Linked DNA regions of Homo sapiens: region 2 is linked to region 1. The links are contacts of gene promoters, found by promoter capture Hi-C in blood cells and fetal thymus (Javierre and others, 2016). All regions are on one chromosome and are shown on one strand. Each heading gives the region's core, a stretch centred on a gene start or on the middle of the fragment in contact. The rest is flanking DNA. Distances are from core to core; before and after follow the strand shown.

The links. The method cuts DNA at HindIII sites, captures the fragments that hold promoters and counts their contacts. A CHiCAGO score of 5 or more calls a contact.
Region 2: a fragment that was not itself captured here is called in contact with the fragment with the promoter of HDAC7 in region 1 in 1 of 17 cell types (non-activated CD4 T cells); the score reaches 5.1 in non-activated CD4 T cells.

Annotation. Positions count from the first base shown.
Region 1 is chr12:47,818,544-47,821,295 of GRCh38, forward strand. HDAC7 (histone deacetylase 7) reads right to left here and starts at 1,360. Exons shown (of 26, transcript NM_015401.5): 1 at 1,224-1,360. The coding sequence starts at 1,242. RefSeq lists enhancers at 289-862, 2,201-2,752 and silencers at 771-1,080, 1,091-1,170, 1,311-1,650. The HindIII fragment of the contact is 23,145 bases long and covers 1-2,752 here.
Region 2 is chr12:47,210,995-47,213,746 of GRCh38, forward strand. The region is part of intron 2 of PCED1B (PC-esterase domain containing 1B); the gene reads left to right. All of the region lies in intron 2 of PCED1B-AS1 (PCED1B antisense RNA 1), which reads right to left. Among named protein-coding and RNA genes, the nearest start is that of PCED1B-AS1, 4.1 kb to the right of the region's middle. The HindIII fragment of the contact is 8,343 bases long and covers 1-2,752 here.

The DNA of each region.
Region 1 (2,752 bases), core at 110-2,609:
TCACAGTCTCCTGCCAGCCCTATAGCTGAATAGGGGTCCTGAGGAAGGTCCCACAGGTCCAGATGCAAGTCCAGGGAACAGGCTGAGAAGTTGATCTTGAGCTCCCAGCAGGGCCGCTGAGGGCCGATGCCCCATTCTCACCCTAGAAAGCGGCAGGCAGAGCTGGGCCTCAGGCAGATGTTGCCTAGGGGAGTGGGCAGGGAGCGTTGGCAGCGAGACAGCCAGTGTCCAGATGCAGGGGGAGGCCTTTGGGTGCGCAAGACAGCCAGCGGGGAGAAGGAGTGAGGAGCAGCCGTGGCTGGGGAGGTCAGACCCAAACGGGCAGCCACAGCGGGAAGCAATGGGGGTGGGGCACTGGGTGGCCTGCGGGCCCCAGAGGGCTCTCTCCTGGCCCACAGGCCTAGAAACTCTGGTCGTGGGAACCCAGCCCATCCGCCAAATTTGCCGCCTGCTCTCACACTCCCCAACACCAACAGACCCCAGGCCTGGGGGGTGCACATCCTGTCCCCCACCCCTCACACAGCCTGCGGCGCCCCGCTTCCCGCGCCGCTGCCGGCATTGACCTCCACAGCTCACCAGGGCACAGGTGTCTCTTCACCCTGATGGGTGAGCAAGGATGGGGGGCAATGCTCAGAGAAACCTCCCAGCCAGAGACCCCTCCAAGGGACCTCTTTCCCCGCCGAAGGATCTGAGTAGGGCCCTGCCCGGCTCCACGGGATGGGGGCGCTGATGTCCAGCCCCACAAAGCCCAGCCCCAACTCAGTGGGTCCTGCCCTTTGCCCTCGCGCTTCCAAACCTTCCGCCCCGGAGCACCGCCCCCTCGCCGGGCCACCGCGGCCGTCCCTCCCTCCCCGGTCCCTCGGCTCGTCCTCCCCGGGAACAGGGGTGATGGGACGTGGGGCCCGCACACCGGCGGCCGGGGCCTCCAACTCCCTCCCTTGGGCCTGTAGCTGCCCCGGGGCGGGCGGATGTGGGCGCCCCGCGGGAGGCCCGAGCCCTCCGGCCCCCGGAACCAGCTCCGACCCGGAGCCTGCCAGAGCCCCGCGGAGCCGGGCGGGACAGGCGCGGTCGGGGGGCGCAAGCCGGGCTGGGCCCGCGGGGCTGGCGGGAGCCCGAGCCGGAGCCGGAGCCGGAGCCGGGGCCAGGGCCGGAGGCCGAGCCTGGGCGGGCGACGCTGGGTGCCGCGCGCAGGGCGGGGCGGGGGGCGGCCGCCCAGTACTCACCAGCGCCGGGGCTGTGCATCCAGGGGCCGGGGCCCTCAGAGCGGGGGGCTCATGGCGGGGCGGGGGGCTGGGGCGCCGGCCTCACATCCCCCCAGTCGCCGGAGGCTGCAGAGCGACTGTGAGACGGCGAGAGGAAGGGAGGGGGCCGGGAGGGGGAGGGCCCTGGCAGCCCGGCCGGCCGGGTAGGATGACAATGGAAGGAAATGCTTTATCTGAGTCTGAGAGCGGGCCAAGGGGGAGGGGAGGGAGGGGGCAGGCGCTCGCGGCCCTGGGACACACCACCCCGGCAGACACTGCACCGCGCGGCGCACAGGCGGGCCGCAGACACCGCGCGCGGCCAGATCGCGGCGGGGCGCGGCGCACTGCCGGGGAGGCAGCGCCGAACCCGGAACGCCGGCCGCGGCTCCGAGCCCCAGCCGCCGCGAGGCGCTCCGAGCCGTGCACAATTCCCGGAAACCCAGCTACCTGGGCGCACGCACCCTCGCATACACAACGTACACGAGCACGCATCCATGTTTACAAGGGGCAGAATCATTTACACAGCACACACTGGGGCTTCGGGGTGGACCCCCGTGCACACACTACATACCCGTACAGCCCACAAGCACGCAGCCACACGCGGGCACAGTGGGACACGCGTGGTGTCCCATGTCCCATACAAGGAATCCCAGACGGACACCCCCCACCACACACACACACACATAAGCACGACTTGCCTCAGGAAAGTTCCAGGATCTGATTTGAATCACTGCCCAGCCCTCCCCCACTGGCACCCCCACACACACACCATGCCTGCTGAGGGGAACGGAAGGGTCCAGCCTGTTCCTATTAAAAGAAAAAGGGTGTGGGGGTGGTGCAGATTTTGAAAGTTTTCTTTTTTTAAAGAAATTTCTCAAGGGACTTCCTTCCCTCCTCTCCTCTTCCTCTCTTCCTCCCATTCCTCTCCCTCCACAACCCCCCTCTTTCCCCCTCCCGGTCCCTATGAGTCAAACTTCAGCAATGTGCCCAGTGTCCCCCAGTGCATTACAGCGGATCACAGAAATGTTCCAGTCTGTGAGTCGGAATGCAGCCGCCTCCAGCCCTCCCTCAGCTAATAAACTCAGCTCAGGGCCGGCTTTAGGCAGTGGCCCTCCCTGCCTCTCCCTCCGCTTTTAGCTGGAGAGAAGGTCAGATTCAGGGGTCAGGGGCTAAGGACCTCGCCATTGTGCTTCCTGGGCTAGCCGGTCAGCCGTGTCTGCCTCCAGCAATCTGGAGCTGCTCCTAGGAAGGGGAGAGGTCCACCACGCAGGAACACTGGGCTCTCTGCAGCGTGAGGCGCCACCATTGTAAACCAAGGAGCAGCTTCCCCTGACCCCATTCTATCTCCCGCAATCCTAAGAAACCCCAAGAATCCAGAGAAGGAAAAATTGAGGCAGCCCCAGAGGTGGAGTCATGTCTGATTGGAAGCAAGAGCCCACAGTGGCCTAGGAGGGCTTGGCCATGCTGGCGGTGAACTTCAAACCATAGATTCTATTCCCTTCCCTCAGGCA
Region 2 (2,752 bases), core at 1-2,500, 610 kb before region 1:
ATGCAAAGCAAATATTCATCATAAAAGAATATGACTAGAAGCTACTTTTCATGGCGCTATTTTCATTTTCATGTTTTCAGTAGAATTTTAAAAATCCCTTTTCAGTAATAGAAGTGATACTCTAACATAAAGCCATAAATGCACTCCCAACATTGAATTCTAGTTATCTGCTTCTGTGTTTTTCCCTCCCTGCACTGTGAGCTACAGAACATAGAGAAGACCATATCCTACTCAACCTCATATCTCAGGTGCTAAGCACTGTGCCTGACCGAAGGAGCACTCGATGGATGTTTATCTAATAAAGTAAGAAAGGAAGAACAGCACACATCCAAAAATATTAAGCTGTTTCTATCTTCCTTGACAAAACAACCTTATGGCCAGGTGCGGTGACTCACGCCTGTAATCCCAGCACTTTGGGAGGCTGAGGCATGTGGATCACTTGAGGCCAGGAGTTCAAGACCAGCCTGGCCAACATGGTGAAACCCCAACTCTACTTTAAAAAAAAAAAAAGGAGCCAGGTGTAGTGGCACATGGCTATAATCCCAGCTACTCAGGAGGCTGAGGCAGGAGAACTGCTTGAACCTGGGAGGCAGAGGTTGCAATGAGCCAAGATCGCACCACTGCACTCTACTATGGGCAACAGAGTGAGACTCTGTCTCAAAAAAAAAAAAAAAAAAAAAAAACTGGGCGCAGTGGCTCAGGCCTGTAATTCCAGCACTTTGGGAGGCTGAGGCGGGTGGATCACTTGAGCCCAGAAGTTCAAAGCCAGCCTGGGCAACAAGGTAAAACCCAATCTCTCGGCTGGGCACGGTGGCTCACGCCTGTAATCCCAGCACTTTGGGAGGCCGAGGCGGGCGGATCACGAGGTCAGGAGATCGAGACCATCCCGGCTAAAACGGTGAAACCCCGTCTCTACTAAAAATACAAAAAATTAGCCGGGCGTAGTGGCGGGCGCCTGTAGTCCCAGCTACTTGGGAGGCTGAGGCAGGAGAATGGCGTGAACCCGGGAGGCGGAGCTTGCAGTGAGCCGAGATCGTGCCACTGTACTCCAGCCTGGGAGACAGAGCGAGACTCCGTCTCAAAAAAAAAAAAAAAAAAAACCCAATCTCTACCAAAAATACAAAAAACTAGCAGGGCATGGTGGCTCACTCCTGTGGTCCCAGCTACTGGGGGTAGGTGGGAGACTGAGGTGTGAGGATCACTTGAGCCCGGAGGTGGAGGTTTCAGTGAGCTGAGATCATGCCACTGCACTCCAGCATAGGTGACAGAGCAAGAGACTCTGTCTCAAAAAACAAAAAGAAAAAAGGAGAGAGGACCGGAATTGGAAAACTAAGCCTGTGGTTTAAAGGTAAGGGACATTGCTAAATAATGTAAGACCCAGTTCTTGCAGGGCATTAAATTATTCTCTGTAAAAAGAGCTTACAGCCTTAGAGAAAAAAATTCATGAACTATAGCTCTGGAACTATGAGTCCAGGACCCAGGAAGCCTGGTCTTTAGTCCAAGCTCAGTAGTTAACCTGTGTGATTCAGACAGTTGCTCAATCTCCCCGAGCTTCAACTTGACCTAACGATGATTTCTGTCATCTCCCCTCCACTTGCGCAGTCTATTCCTGCAGTGATGGTGTCATACCAGCCCATGGAACAGTGCCCATCAAACAAGGTACTTGTCAGTATTTACGTTTTTTTCCAGTGGTTAGTCATTTAAAGAATTATTTTGCATTACTAAAGCATGGATGCATGTATACTAATCCCTGGAACAAAAATGAGCATTTACTAAGTACCAAGCAGTCTGCTTAGCACTTTGCAGGTTTAAACTTCACAACTGGAAGTGGGCCAGAGGAGTTGAGTACCTTTCCCAAAGTCACACAGCTTGTGGATTATTAATTTGGGACTCTGAACTCAGGCTTTTCTGCCTGCAAAGGCCATGTTCTGAACCACTAGGCTGCATTGGAACAGAATACAGAACTTGCATAAAACATAAGAATTCTAAGAATTTTGTGGAAATGTTTAAGAAATCCTGACAGAATGGGATCTTTTATAAATTCACATTTCTCATTCCATCCATCCTGAATAGTGAAATCACTGATTTGGCTTTTCTCAATCTGTAACATCCCAAATCCCAATAAGTATTGCCTTGTTCATCAACACAAAGTTTGCACATACTTCGTGCAAAATTTAGTTCTGTTACTAAATCGAACTCATGAGAAGTTTTAATCCAGAATCTCAAAGTTCCTAATATGTTATCAGAGAAGATTTCGTACCCTAATAGAAACAAATTATTCATTATTCATATGTGCTTGAAAGTACTAATTGTGAGTGCTTTGAAGAGAAATTATCAAAAATATGTGGACTGTTTAAGTCAGACAACCAAAGAAAAAAACATAGTTTTGTGATTTGCCAAATTTGGCCCATTCGTTTAAGGCAGCCCAGGAATAGATTTAAACACATACACACACGAGCCAGCTGAAATTAATGTATATATATGTATATATTTAATGGGCTGATTTCTGGCCCTCTTATAGGATTCCCAAGAAGATAAGAAAAATAATTGCGTTCCTTAAGATAGAAAATGTGGATAAAATGGTAATGGCTTGCATAAAGCAAAGTTTAAATTTCTCTGTGGCTATAACTACTAATGAGCTGCTAATAGTAAAGGATATCTGTGTGTGAAAGCACATTCACAGGGTAAAACATTATATGTGCATAAGTTGTCATTACTGTTTAAGAAAAAGCCAAGTTTGGTGGGTAAAAAA